Linked DNA regions of Homo sapiens: regions 1, 3 and 4 are each linked to region 2. The links are contacts of gene promoters, found by promoter capture Hi-C in human tissues and cell types (Jung and others, 2019). All regions are on one chromosome and are shown on one strand. Each heading gives the region's core, a stretch centred on a gene start or on the middle of the fragment in contact. The rest is flanking DNA. Distances are from core to core; before and after follow the strand shown.

Region 1 (3,337 bases), core at 230-2,729, 440 kb after region 2:
CATGATTGATTAAACCACTGGCCATTGGTGATCAAATTAACTTTCAGCACAGATGTTGGTGTGACTTTCAGCCCCACCCCTCTAATCCTGCCTTGGTTTTTCCAGTGACCAGCCCCCATCATGAAGCTACCTAGATGCTGCCAGCCATCAGTCAACTCATAAGCAAACAAAAAGACATCACTTCAGAGTTTCTAATACCAAGAAACTGGATTGTAAACCAAATATATCACAGCCATTCTATCATAAAGATTGGTTTGTCAACAAACACAGGGCAAATTAATTCCATTTTATAATGAAACTGAAAATCACTTAAAAGATTTCATGAAATCCATTAAAGGGATGATGGAGAACTGCAGGATCACATTCAAAGGCCCTGATGAGAAAATCAAAAAGGATAATGACAGGATAAATTCTTCAGAATGACTTGTCTGCCAAGGACTAAGAGAGTCCCTTAGAAAAACTGATAGAAGCAATTTACTATTTTTTTGTAAAAATTATGTGCTATTGTACATACAAAAAATACCAATAAACACTAATTTTCATTGTTCTTCTATAATTAGAACATAGTTTCTGTTATACAAATTTTCTTAATTGAACTAAAATCAACTTATATGTCTAAGTTTTAGTGTAATTTTTCACAATTTACTCTAAATGTCTGATCCCAGGGTATTTTTTTCTTCTTTTTTTTAACTTTTAGGTTCAGAGGTACACGTGCAGGTTTGTTATACAGGTAAATTGCATGTCACAGGGGTTTGGTATACAGATTATTTTGTCACCCAGGTAATAAGCATAGTACCCAACAGGCAGTTTTTCAATCCCCTCCCTCCTCCCACCCTCCACCCTAGGAGGCTCTGGTGTCTGTTGTACCCTTATTTGTGTGCATGTGTACTCAATGTTTACCTCTGACCTGTAAGAGAGAACATGGGGCATCATGGCTTTCAGCTCCATCAATGTTGTTGCAAAGCGAAGGATCTCATTCTTTTTTAATGGCTGCATAGTATTCCATGGTATATCCATACTGCATTATCTGGTCTACCACTGATGGGTATTTAGGTTGATTCCAAGACTTTGCTATCGTGAATAGTGCTGTGATGAGCACACACATGCGTCTTTGTGGAGAATGATTTATATTCCTTCAGGTATATACCCAATAAAGGGATTGCTGGGTTGAATGGTATTTCTGTTTTAAGTTCTTCAAGAAATTGCCACACTACTTTCCACAATGGCTAAACTAATTTACACACACCAGCAGTGTATAAGTGTTCCCTTTTCTCCACAACCTCAACAGCATCTATTATTTTTTACTTTTTAATAATGGCCATTCTGACTGGTGTGAGATGGTATCTCACTGTGGTTTTGATTTGCATTTCTCTAATGGTTCGTTTCAATCTACTGCAAATTGCTAGCCAGTTATCACAGCACCACTTATTATATAGAAAGTCCTTTCCCCATAGCTTGTTTTTGTCGACTTTGTCAAAGATCAGATGATTGTAGATGTCTGGCATTATTTCTGAGCTCTCTATTCAGTCTCATTGGTCTGTGTGTCTCTTTTTGTACCACTATTGTGCTTTTTTGGTTATCGTAGCCTTGTAATATAGTTTGAAGTTGGGTAATGTGATGCCTCCAACCTTGTTCTTTTTGCTTAGGACTGCTTTGGCTATTCAGGCTCTTTTTTGGTTCCATACGAATTTAAAAATAATTTTTCTAATTCTATGGAGAATGTCATCAGTAGTTTGATAGGAATGGCACTGAATCTGTAGACTGCTTTGGGTGGTATGGCCATTTTAAACAATCTTGATTCTTCCTATCTATGGGCATGGAATGTTCTTCCATTTGTGTCACCTATGATGTCTTTGGGCAGTGTTTTGTAATTCTCATTTAGAGATCTTTCACCTCCCAGATTAGCTGCAATCCTAAGTATTTTATTCTTTTTGTAGCTATTGTGAATGCGATTGTGTTCTTGATTTGGCTCTCAGCTTAGATGATGTTGGTGTATAGAAATGCTACTGGTTTTTGTGCACTGATTTTGTCTTCTGAGACTTTACTGAAGTTGTTTATCAGATCTAGGAACTTTTGGGCAGTGGCTATGGGGTTTTCTAGTTATAGAACCATATCATCTGCAAACAGAAATAGTTTGACTTCCTCTCTTCCTCTTGGCATTGCTCTTCTCTTGCCTGATTGCTCTGGCTCGGACTTCTAGTACTATGGTTAAGTATGAGTGGTGAGAGTTGGCATCCTTGCCTTGTTCCGGTTCTCAAGGGGAATGCTTCCAGCTTTTGCCCATTCAGTATGATGTTTGCTGTGGGTTTGTCATAGGTGGCTCTTATTATTTTGAAGTACATTACTTCAATGCCTAGTTTGTTGAGGGTTCTTAACATGAAGGGATATTGAATTTTATCAAAAGCTTTTTTTCCTGCATCTATTTAGAGGATCATGTGATTTTGTTTATAATTCTGTTTTTGTGGCAAATCACATTTATTGATCTGTGTATGCTGAACTAACTTTGCATCCCAGGAATAAAGCTTACTTGATCACAGTGGATTAACTTTTTGATGTGCTGCTGAATTTGGCTTGCTAGTATTTTGTTGGGGACTTTTGCTTCTATGGTCATCAGGAATATTGGCCTAAGATTTTCTTTTTTGTTGTGTCTCTGCCAGGTTTTGGTATCATAATGATGCTAGCCTCACAGAATGAATTAGAGAGGATTCCCTCCACCTCAATTTGTAGGAGCAGTTTCAGTAGGAATAGTACCAGCTTTTCCTTACACATTCAGTAGTTTGGCTGTGAATCTGTCTGGTCCTGGGATTTTTGTGATTGGCAGGCTTTTTATTACTGATTCAATTTTATAATTCATTATTTGTCTGTTCATGGATTCAACTTCTTCCTGGTTCAATCTTGGGAGGTCGTATGTTTCCAGGCATTTATCCATTTCTTTCAGATTTTCTAGTTTGCATGCATAGAGGTGTTCACAGTAGTCTCTGGGGTTTTTTTGTATTTCTGTTGGGTTGGTGGTAATGTCCCCTTTGTCATTTCTGATTCTGTTTATTTGGATCTTCTGTCTCTCTCTCTATTAGTCTCGCTAGTGGCATATCAATCTTATTTATTCTTTCAAAGAATCAATTTCTGTACTTGTTGATCTTTTGTATGGTTTTTTACATCTCAGTTTCCTTCATTTCAGCTCTGATTTTGGTTATCTGTTGTCTTCTGCTAGCTCTGGGGTTGGTTTGCTCATTTCTCTGGTTCCTCTGGGTGTGATGTTAGGTTAACTTGAGATCCTTTTAACTTTTAACTTTTTAGTCCGTTTCTCTGGGTGTTTAGTGCTATATACTTCCCTCTT
Region 2 (3,548 bases), core at 233-2,732:
AAAAGAGCACAGTACCTCTTGGCGCTGGTGGAGAGGAGTTTGGAGTTTTTGCTCATGCTGACTTTACTCTCCTTCTTCTTGGGGGTGTTTGTTTCTTTCTCGGTTTGCTGGTTGGAAGACGAAGATGAGGAGGAGCTGGTGCTGGCCCTCGAATCGTCATCCGACATAGCGAACCCCCCACCCCACCCCGCAAACAGCCCCTGCAGGGGGAGAGAAACAAAACAGAAACACACAAACCATGCAGCCAGTGTAAATAAGGAACTCGGGTGCTGTCAGGAGGGCATTGACCAGGGGCGCACGCGGCCGCCCACCGCCCTCCACTCGCTTTTCAAAGTCTGCAGGCCCATTAAGGCTTTTGCAAATCGGACGCGGCTTGTTTATTTTTGGCCCCAAGTGGGGAACGCTGTGGGAAAACGGTCTGGAGCTAGGAGAGAGGCCCCTCCCTCGCCCCCCGGGGCTCTCCGCTGGGCAGGGAGGGAGTAGCCCGGGAGGCGAAGGAGGGCAGGGCGGGGGGCGCGGGGCGCCACGGCGGGGCAGGGAGGGAAGGTCCCGGCGGCCGGCCGGCCTCGGGGCTGTTTTTGTCCGCTTTCCGGGGGTCGTGAGGGGCCGGTGGCCCGGGTGAGACTGTGGGGCCACGAGCGGAGTTTGGCGAGGTCGGGAAGAGAGGAGGGGCGGGAAGGAGTAAGAGAGGAAGCCGAAACAGGGGGACGGAGGCGGGGAGCGGGTGCCCGGGTGGGGGAAGGGAGAGGCCGGCGGGGGGCAGGGGCGACGAGGCCCGAGGCCCCCCCGCGCCGCGCCCCGACGCCCCTCCCGGCCTGCCTGCCTCTGGCCGCCCTGCTCACAGCTATGCGGCCGGGCGGGGGTCCGGAGCACACGCCCGATCGCCACTCCTGTAGGGGGATAGGGGCTGCGGCGGGGAATGGGGGGGTCGGCCTCCGCAGCGAAGACATAACAATGAGCCCTTCCGCCCCGGAGGGGTTAATCCCCGCGAACCCCCGCCCCTGGGGAAAACGGGGCTCCCCCAACTCCCTCCCACCCCCGCTCCCGGGCCCCTCGGTGGCCAGTGGGGGGCTCTTGGGGCAGCGCTGACAGTTCGAGCCACAATGACCCCCGTCCTCAATGCGGGCGGCCCCCGCACCCCACGCGGCCCGGGGTCCCTGCCCATCCCCCGCGGGCGGGCCCCGGACCCCTGGGGCTCCCCAGCCCCTCTCCGCTCCCCCCCCGCGCCGGCCCCGTGCCCTGCGGCCCGGCGGCCCCGGCGGCGCGAGTCGGGGGAGGCGGCGAGGGGTGTCCCCGAGGCCCGGCGGCGCGGCCGGGGGGCGGCGGGCCGCTGGGGGGATCCCCGTACCTCTCTTTGTGTCTGGCTCCTCCGTGCCGCCGCGGCGGCTGCTGCTGCGGCTGCGGCTGGGCCTGGCCACTCGTGTCTCTCTCTCGCTGGGAGAGAAGCGGAAGTGCAGCAACAGCAACTATTAAACAGGCAATGGCTTCCCCCAGCCACACACGCTCGCACACACACCACTCCTCCGCCGCCGCCTCCTCCTCCTCCTCCTCCTCGCCCTCACCCCTCCCCCACCCGGCCCGGTCCCACCCACCCGCGCTCCCCTCCCCCTGCAACACCTCCTGGGGGTGCGCGAGGAAGACCCAGGAGACCCCAGGAAACCCTGTCCCCCACAGACACCCCCACCCCAGCGCCTCCTCCGGACGCCCGGGAAGGGGGCGAGGGTTGTGAATTTTCTCTTAAGTGGTTTGGGAACCTGGATTCTGGGCGGGAGAGGGGAAGCCGATGGAGATGGGGGGCGCTGGGAGTGATTGGAACTAGATGGAATAGGGGGGTCACGAGAGAAAGTTCTTTCCAATGAGGGCTTTTGGAAAGGAGAGGAGTAGGGAGGTGGCAAATTGGTGAAAACGTTGGTAATCTGGTGGTGGCAAAGACTTTAGAGAATGCAGCGGGTACTCCACCTAAAAAGCGATTAAAGAGAAAAAAAAAATCACACAACAAGGGTTTTCTTTGGACTGACACTTGCTTCTCCTTCTAGCAATTTACCTGCTAGGAGCAGAGGTCAGTTTAGGTATGCCTGTGAGAAAATCCCAAACTAGGAATTTTCTGCTCAGGTCACGCGAGGCACGTGCAGTTTTACAATATTAGATTCTTCCACTCACTTTTTATAGAAAGTGATGTGGTTTTTTATAAGAGTGATACAAAGGTTTTGGTGACAGGTAAAACCAACGTGTAACGGGCTTGCGAATGTGAGACATCACTGGGAATAAGCTATATACTACTGAATTAGACTGGATTTAGAATTTTTTGTGTCATTTTACATTAGATGTAAGGTTTGGTTTTTGGAAATTGGATGCAAAGTTCTGGGGATCGCAGAATCCCCAGATCGCTAAATTGACCAAATTATTTTTAAAATATTAAGCCATTTTTCTCTTTCTTTAGCTACCTATAAATGCTATGCAAATAATATTTTTGAAATGATCAGCAATTCTTCTGAATTGTTCCTTATTTAGCATTTTTGCCAATTTTTTTTTAATATTAAGCCATCAAATTACGATTCAGTTTCTCACCTTTTGTCATTTCAGTTGAAGGGAACTAAAGAGATGTGTGCCATTCAAATACAACAGTGCCACACATACAAGGTCTTGTACATTAAGGAGACAGCCTCAGATTTCCATAGGTCACTCTAAATTATCTCATTCAAACTGCCATCATTTTCCACAGCAACAGTGGCTTCAGTTACCACAGGACAACACAAGATATACAGCCCATGGCATATCCAGTAACCAGGAAAACAAGCATTCTCACGACCCAGCCGAACTCCTTCTAACCATCAACCTGAAATTCCAGCTTTATCAAGACTCATAAAGTAATTGTGCATGCTTCTTGCTCAATCCCTACCAGGAAACCTGTATCTACCAGGAGTTGTCATAGAATAAGAAGTTCAAAAGCTGGAAGAAATCTTCAGGGTCATAATTTCAGCCTCCTGCTTCCAGACAGAACTATTTCTCCACCACTGAAATGCATATAGATTTTGAAAAAATTTCCAGACATAACCTTTCTTAAGTGTTTGGTTTCAGGAGTCCTGGTAGAGTATATAAAAATGATGACATTCTTTGCTATATATTTGAAAAAATTTTTTAAACTTCTGAAAAACTGATTGTATTCTTTTTGTTCTGATGAAAAGATGTAAATTCAGAAGAAAACAATAAGAAGATGAAATAAACTCAGGATGAGGAAAATAATCTAAAAATAGTTATTAAAATTGAAATTTCCTCCTATGAAAATTTGGATTTCTGATACTTAAAAATATATGTCTACATTATGAATACAACCAGTAAAAAAATCATGTGTTATAAAGACAAGAACTAGCAGAGATCACAGGAAAATAAAAGGTTTGATTTGCTGAAGTGATCAGGACAGTAGGTGAATTTTTTCTTTAATATTGGTTTGCATAAATTGCCTACCAGCTATAATAAGAATTCTTTTGTAACAGAACATGATATTTTGTGTTGTGTTACTGATGCTTGGGTTGGACTGATTCCTTGTG
Region 3 (3,549 bases), core at 9-2,508, 380 kb after region 2:
TTTCTCTCAACACTAATTATTTCACTTCACTCTCTTATTGTGTGCATGGTTTCTGAGGAAATGTTGGATATAATTCTCTAAGTCAGGTCTCCCTGCACACCCCATCAGGCTTCATTCCAGATTTTTAATCACTGATTTTCTGTAATTTGAATATGATATGACTATGTGTAGCTTTTTTTTTTTTTTTTTGCATTTATCCTAATGCTTTCTGAGCTTCCTGAATCTGTGGTTTAGTGTGGGACATTAATTTGCAGGAAAATTTCTGTTGTTCCTGCTTCAAATATTTAATCTGTTCCTTTCCTTTTTTACTTCGTTTGGTATTCTCATCATGCATATGATACACCTATTGTTGTTCCACAGTTCTTGGATATTCTGTTCAGTTTATTTCAGTCTTTTTTCCCTTTACTTTTCTATCTTGGAAGTTTCTACTGACATATACTCAAGGTTTTAGATTCTTTCCTCAGCTGTGTCAAGTCTACCAATGAACTCATTTAAAACATTCTTCATTTTTATTTCACTGTTTTTCACCTTTGGCATTTCTTTTTGATTCTTTCTTAGAATTCCACCTCTCTGCTTACATTGCCCATCTGCTCTTCCATGGCATCTACTTTATCCCTAGAGCCCTTAGTATTTTAATGATAGTTGTTTTAAATTCCTGATATGATAATTTCAAGAGCCCTGCCATATCTGAATCTGGTTCTGTTGCTTGTTCTGTCTCTTCGAAGTGTATTATTTGCCTTCTAGTACACTTGTAATTTTTTTCTTGAGAGCTGGACATGGTGAATTGGGTAAAAGGAACTGCAGAAAATAGGGCTAAGAAAGTGGGGGTAAGAAAGCGGGGGAGGGTAGAGCATTCTATAGTCCTATGATTAGGTCTCATGACTCGTCACCCCTAAAGTTTTTCACTCTCAAGCTTGTATATCCTGAGCCCCAGCAATTTATCAATTGCAGTTCAGGTTTTCCTACTGTGATGCTGATTCCTGCAGAGGCTTCTGCTCCTGTTCTCTGTATTTGCCTGTCTCTTCAATCTGGGGGTGGTGGGAGTGGTTTACCCTGTAACCTTGCTTCTATAACAGATCTAAGAAGAACTGTTAATTTTTCAGTTTGTTCAGCTTTTTAACCTGTTTATTTTTTGACGTAATGACTTCTAAGCTCCTTACATGCTAGTCTGGAAACTAGAAGTCTAATTTTTTAAATTAACAAATTTCAGAGACAGATGGGATTTTAAAGAAAATTTAGTTGAGCTTCCCCCTTTAAAAGACAAGAGAGCAGGAAGAGAAGAAAGTTAAATGATTTGTCCAACTATCTAGGATCTATTTAATGTCATCAGAACTGGGTTAGACCCCAGCAATTCCTACCCTACTTCTTATCTGCAACTAAAAAGTAGCTGTTTTAATGGCATTATAGTTATGCTAAAAGAAATTAGTCCTTATGGACTTACTCAAGGATACATACTGAAATATTTATAAGGAAAGGATTGACACTTGGAATTTGCTTTAAAATCTGAGGCAAGATATGTTTGGTGGGGGTATAGTTAAAACACGATTCCCTGTGCATTGATAAATGTGATTTAAAGTCTTTATTATACTAATTTTCTACTTTGTATATAATTTAAGTTTTCCAAACTCAAATGTTTAAAACATGGTAAAGTAGAAAAGGATGAAACAATTGCTTATTTTGACTCTAATTATCCATAAATGTTACCACCAGATATAACCAATTTAAGATAAAACCAATTTAAAAATTATTTGGCTTAGTACCTCTGCCAAATCACTGAAGTAAAATAAACGCTACCAGTTATAAAAAATCAAACTACTTTATTTATATAAAATTCAGCTATCATACTTCTTTAAATGTTTCTATTATTTTAACATCTCATAGCTATCAGAGTACCTTAGCTCCAGCTGAAATCAAACTGACATCATTTTATGTATTTAACTACAAACCTCTTACACAATACATTAGCTCAATTTGCTTTTTCATTCTTAAATGAAACCTTATGCCTGGAGCAGAGGACCTTTCATTAGTGCTACAATTTGTACAAGATTCTAAAAATATGTTCATTAATCCAAGCAGAATTAAATTTTCTACATTTTATCCTTAGCAAGCCAAAGAAAAAGCCATCAAATTCAGTATCACTTAAAGCAAATACAGAAAAAAAAAAAAACAAAGGTGTTTAAGTCAGTTAATATGTGCTCTCCTCCCAGAAAGGCTACCTGCTCCCCTACAAGAGTAGATACCCCAGCTAGCTGCTTCTTTAGTTACTGATCATAGACAAATGAATTCATTTAGGAAATCATCTGTACCTTAACATGGTAACTGCAAGTCTCTGCTGTATTTTCATTAATATTATACTGCAGATTATGTAGCTTTTCTTTTATTTCTTAGATTTATCTGGTTCAACATAGAAAAAAAAGTTCCTTAAACATTTATATCTTATTCAATTGGGTATTTTCTGAAGGGTTTGAGAGAATAAATAACTGTGGAATTTAGTAAGATTATCAAACATTACTTACCTTTCCAAATTAGGGAACAAAAGCTTGAAGAGAAAACCTTAAAAGTATCCACTCACTCTCAGCACTCTCAAAATTCTCAGTAATGTCCTTTCATTACTCAAGAGGTCAACCACCAGACTCAGTAACTAAACTAGGCAAAATAAGTCTCCCTGAGGATCATGAATTGAAGGAGGGTGTGAAGGAGGAGAGGCAGAGATACAGTTTTCAGTACTCCACTGCTAAGGGAGGGCCCTCATTCTTCTGATAGGTAGCACCAGGTCACACTACTACTGATCGGAGATTTAGGAAGAGATGTAGGGTTTATTATCATATTCTCATTAAAAACATTCATGAGTATCATAATAAAGACTCCATACATTTTGAAAAAATGTAATTGCTTATATTCCAGTATAGGTATTTTTAAGCACCTAGTACCTATTACAATCACTGATCTAGAAATAAATACACGCACTGGACATGCAAGCATTATATAGATTATGGCATTAGTGTGTTATAAAGTAATTAAAGCAGTTATAAGTAAAATTAGACCAAGAGTTCTTATCAAGGATGGCAATATATTAACTCTCATCCTGATAAGAAATAAACAATTGTTAACCATTAAAACAAGGGTTATGAGAGAAACAGACATACTTCTATATTAACTCTTGACAAAAAGTTATGTATACTGAGTAAAGAAAAATGAAATAGCAGAGATCTATTTCTTATCTTTAGTATCAAGATAAATAATAAAGTGTAAGATAATCCCACTCAAGGACTTTTGAAAAATATATCTTTACTTCACTTCACTTTGCTAATGTATTAGATCTCCAAGACAGCTGCAAAGTTAGAACTCGAACACAACTAGCTTTAGTTAAAGCACTAGCTATCAAACCGTTTTATGCGCAGTTGGGAGAATAAAACAATTATAGCTTCAGAGACTCTAAAAGCTTTAATTTCAAGTTTTGTGACTGCTTAACATGCAAAGGACATTTTAATCAAGAACTGCAAACCAATGAACCTAACATGCAAAGGACATCTTAAACAAGAACTGTAA
Region 4 (3,664 bases), core at 73-2,572, 260 kb after region 2:
CAAATAGTAATTTTTCACTTACAAACTTTTACCAAATTGGACATGGACTATTAACTTTTTGAACTCATATATGATTAACCCCAACTCTAAGCTAACCACATTATTTTGATTATGAATCTACAGAAAAGATGCATTACCCGCAGATACAGAACCATTTATAGTAAGGCTGAAGTTAAAATATACCATCCCTAGTAGGCTATTACCAAGATTAAAAAATACACATCCCTCAGATAAATGTACCCTCCTACGATGACCACGGGTGGCTGGCACTCTAATATGCCTTTGCCCCAGTGATGCGGGGTTATTCATGCATTGTAAGCTGAACTCTTTTCTAGAGTTTTTCTTATAAAAATATAATGCTGGCATCCAAAGCTAGATAAACTATGAAGACATCTTCTCTAGGCCTGCACTCTTCCTAGTTTCCCTTATGTATTTAAATTAGTCTGTGTATGAACATTTTTTCCATCACAGGAGCCAGCCAGTCTGGACAAGAAAGTCACTGGAGTACACATGTGGTCACAATGTATGCAAGGAAGGTGGTTTACCTCACTGGTGTAAAGAGTCACGTCAAAAGGTACTAACTACATCAGCCTATAGGCACATAGTCAGATAGGCATTTGTTGGTTGGCCGAGGCACTTGAATAGCACAAACAATATGTCTTATTTGGGAAAATGCTTTCAGAAGGAAGACAGTGCTGAATTGGGGCGGTGGTGGGGAAGAACCATTGCATTTTCCAAAAATTCAACTTTATAAAAGCTTCATGTGGCAACAGGTTTCCCTGTAGGATACTCTTAAGCAGAAAGTTCTTCCAATACATGTAAAATATTCTGATTTGTAATTTTTTCCAGGAACAGACCTGCTCCAGAAAGAAATATGCTAGTAATTTAGGCAAACTCTTGTACTGCTTATTGTGTGAATTATTCACCAATATGACATGAAAAATTCAACAGCCATAATACACATTAAGCTCCAGGATCTACTAAAGAACAAATATGAAGAGAAGAAAAAGAGAAAGTAGTTATTACAGTTGTATAGGAATAATTAATCTGACATTTTGGAAGCGCTTTCTTTTCTGAGGAAGAGGCACTGTGAGTGTTGTTACTGATAGCACCTTGCCCAGGCTAGATACTGAATGAAAAGTTGAGTCAGAAAATAAGTAAAATAAAGAGAACTGCCCATTTGTTATGGGATCTGACTCAGACATTGGTAGTGTTACATTAATTCTTCAAATTTTCATAATTACAACATTTCTCCCAAGATACTGTACAATCTTAAGTATTCACAGTAAAAAGAGAAAATGTCATTCAATCATCTGGATGTTTTGTCCACACAAGTCAATTACTGAATAATTAGAGTTGTTTTATTATGCTGTTTCAGATTGGAATTTCCATAACACTAACAATGCATTATTTTAATTTCAAATATGTATTGTTTAAACATGCTGTTTAAATAATTTCTCTTAATTTCATGTTTAAAAATTTCACATTTAAAAAGCCTGATTTCACATTTAAACTAGCTGGGTATGGTGGCATGTGCCTATAGTCCCAGCTCTTGGGAGGTTGAGGCAGGAGGATCACTTGAGACCACTTGAGCCCAGGAGTTCCGGTAGGGGGCTGCAGTGAGTTCTGATTGTGCCACTACAGTCCAGCATAGGCAACAGAATGAGGTTTCATCTCTCTCTCTATTTTTTTAAAAAGGTGTCAGTCTGCCAGGCACGGTGGCTCATGCCTGTAATCCTAGCACTTCGGGAGGCCAAGGCAGGAGGATCACGAGGTCAGGAGTTTGAGACCAGCCTGATCAACATGGTGAAACCCCGTCTCTACTAAAAATCCAAAAATTAGCTGGGCGTGGTGGTGCGCGCCTGTAATCTCAGCTACTCAGGAGGCTAAGGCAGGAGAATTGCTTGAACCCAGCAAGTGGAAGTTGCAGTGAGCTGAGATCGCACCATTGCACTGCAGCCTGGGAGACAGAGTGAAACTGTCTCAAAACAAACAAACAAACAAACAAACAAACAAACAAAAGGGCATCAAACTTTACTCAGTGGCTTATCTTCCACAGGGCACATGCTGTATCTTTTAGTAACATACCCTTAAGTTCACCACTGCTAACTTAATTCTGATGCAGCAACCTGTTCTGACATTTACTAGGTCTTGTTTAAAAATGGTTTTCATGAAAATTAATGGTATTAAAACAATATTATCTGAGAATATTTAGCTACTCGGGAGGCTGAAGCAGGAGGGTTGCTTGAGTGCAGGAGTTCGAAGCTGCAGAGAGCTATGACGACACCACTGCCCTCCAGCCTGGGAGACAGAGCAAGACCCCATCTCTAAAAATAAATAAATAAATAATAAACAAAAAACCCTAATTCCTAAACCTTACTAAATATAGGTGAGTTCTGAAGCTGGGTGAGGGACACACTGGGACTTATAATAACCATTTTCTCTATTTTTTGTGAATGTGTGAAAAACCCACTTCAGCCTTTTCCTTGGTAAAGGAGAGTCTAGAGGCCATCTAGTTCACACATTTTACCTAATATTTCCTATATGTACTTAAAATTATTACGTCTTCACTTAGTGAAAATTTCCAATTCATTAAAAAAAATCAGTCTGATCTTTTCTCAATTATACTGAACTAGTAAGATTTTACTGTACCTGCTATTACAGAACACACCAATCAGAAACCTGAAATGGATGCGTGAACAACTCTGTAACAGTCAAAAAGAAACAGAAAAGGAACCACAGATTCCCACTCTAAGGGATTTACCTTCCTACTTTAAAAATGCTGGTAGCACTTTATAGGTCAAGTAAAGTTGACAGATACTCCCTGCGTTAGAAGTAAGGAAACAGAAGTAAGGAAAAGATACATGAAGATGATAAACACAACACTGTATTTTCTTATTTACCAAATGGAAGTAATTTCTCCAAAGGCCCTTTTAGTTAGATAAGAGATAAGGGTGAAACTTTAAACTTTAAAAGCACTTTTTAAGGTATCCCATATGTTAGCAAATATGGTAAAGTCTAGTTTTAACCATCTTTAAAAGAATCAAACCTATCAAAGGACGTATATTTAAGTTATGAAAGTAACAAAGTTTTAGCAGGTCAGCATTTCTAGTAAGAATCTATCAAAAAAGAATAAACAGTTAATGCTCCTTTTCACCAAGGCAAATTGGATGTTTGAGGAGGATATCAAATTGTTGGTTATAAATAAAGACTTGCCCACACAAAGCAGAAATACCATGGGCTAAATAGGAAATCCTTGCTTTGTCATGAAGTCATCCCTCACCTGAAGCTACCAATCCTTTCTTGGTAACTCTTTGAGTCAAAGAGGATGAATCCTTTTGACTTGTTTCACAACTAGGGAATCCAAGATCTAAGCCTACAATGGGGTAATTTTGGCTTTCCTTTCTCATTCAGTATTTCCTAGAAAATCATTCTTTGGTAAAAGTGCTACAAACTAATGGATATTTTTGTTTGCATTATTATACACCAGTATCTCTTGTAAGACAACTAAAGAAATGGTTTATTTTTACAGAATTGACAAAGTAGGGAAATAATCCTTTTAATATCATTTAAAATTTGCATTTACAAATATGTAGGGGTCAAGGTAAGCATCTCAGAATTGTTATTTTTTGTTTTTTTAAACCAAATTTATGATGGTACACAA

Evidence for each region. Contacts are between HindIII fragments. The study calls those that stand out against the background at their distance.
Region 1: a fragment that was not itself captured here is called in contact with the fragment with the promoter of UBE2E1 in region 2 in 1 of the 25 tissues and cell types used here (mesendoderm cells).
Region 3: a fragment that was not itself captured here is called in contact with the fragment with the promoter of UBE2E1 in region 2 in 1 of the 25 tissues and cell types used here (lymphoblastoid cells).
Region 4: a contact is called between a fragment that was not itself captured here and the fragment with the promoter of UBE2E1 in region 2, in 1 of the 25 tissues and cell types used here (mesendoderm cells).

Annotation. Positions count from the first base shown.
Region 1 is chr3:23,364,121-23,367,457 of GRCh38, reverse strand. The region is part of intron 3 of UBE2E2 (ubiquitin conjugating enzyme E2 E2); the gene reads right to left. Among named protein-coding and RNA genes, the nearest start is that of UBE2E2, 160 kb to the right of the region's middle. The HindIII fragment of the contact is 3,973 bases long and covers 1-3,337 here.
Region 2 is chr3:23,803,889-23,807,436 of GRCh38, reverse strand. UBE2E1 (ubiquitin conjugating enzyme E2 E1) reads right to left here and starts at 1,482. Exons shown (of 6, transcript NM_003341.5): 1 at 1,349-1,482; 2 at 16-200. The coding sequence starts at 167. It overlaps UBE2E1-AS1 (UBE2E1 antisense RNA 1), which reads left to right and starts at 532. Exons shown (of 2, transcript NR_046652.1): 1 at 532-618; 2 at 2,723-3,413. RefSeq lists an enhancer at 1-56 and silencers at 357-536, 737-1,036, 1,227-1,356, 1,437-1,546. The HindIII fragment of the contact is 15,489 bases long and covers 1-3,548 here.
Region 3 is chr3:23,423,058-23,426,606 of GRCh38, reverse strand. The region is part of intron 3 of UBE2E2 (ubiquitin conjugating enzyme E2 E2); the gene reads right to left. Among named protein-coding and RNA genes, the nearest start is that of UBE2E2, 220 kb to the right of the region's middle. The HindIII fragment of the contact is 3,466 bases long and covers 1-2,991 here.
Region 4 is chr3:23,538,746-23,542,409 of GRCh38, reverse strand. All of the region lies in intron 5 of UBE2E2 (ubiquitin conjugating enzyme E2 E2), which reads right to left. Among named protein-coding and RNA genes, the nearest start is that of UBE2E1, 270 kb to the left of the region's middle. The HindIII fragment of the contact is 7,012 bases long and covers 1-3,664 here.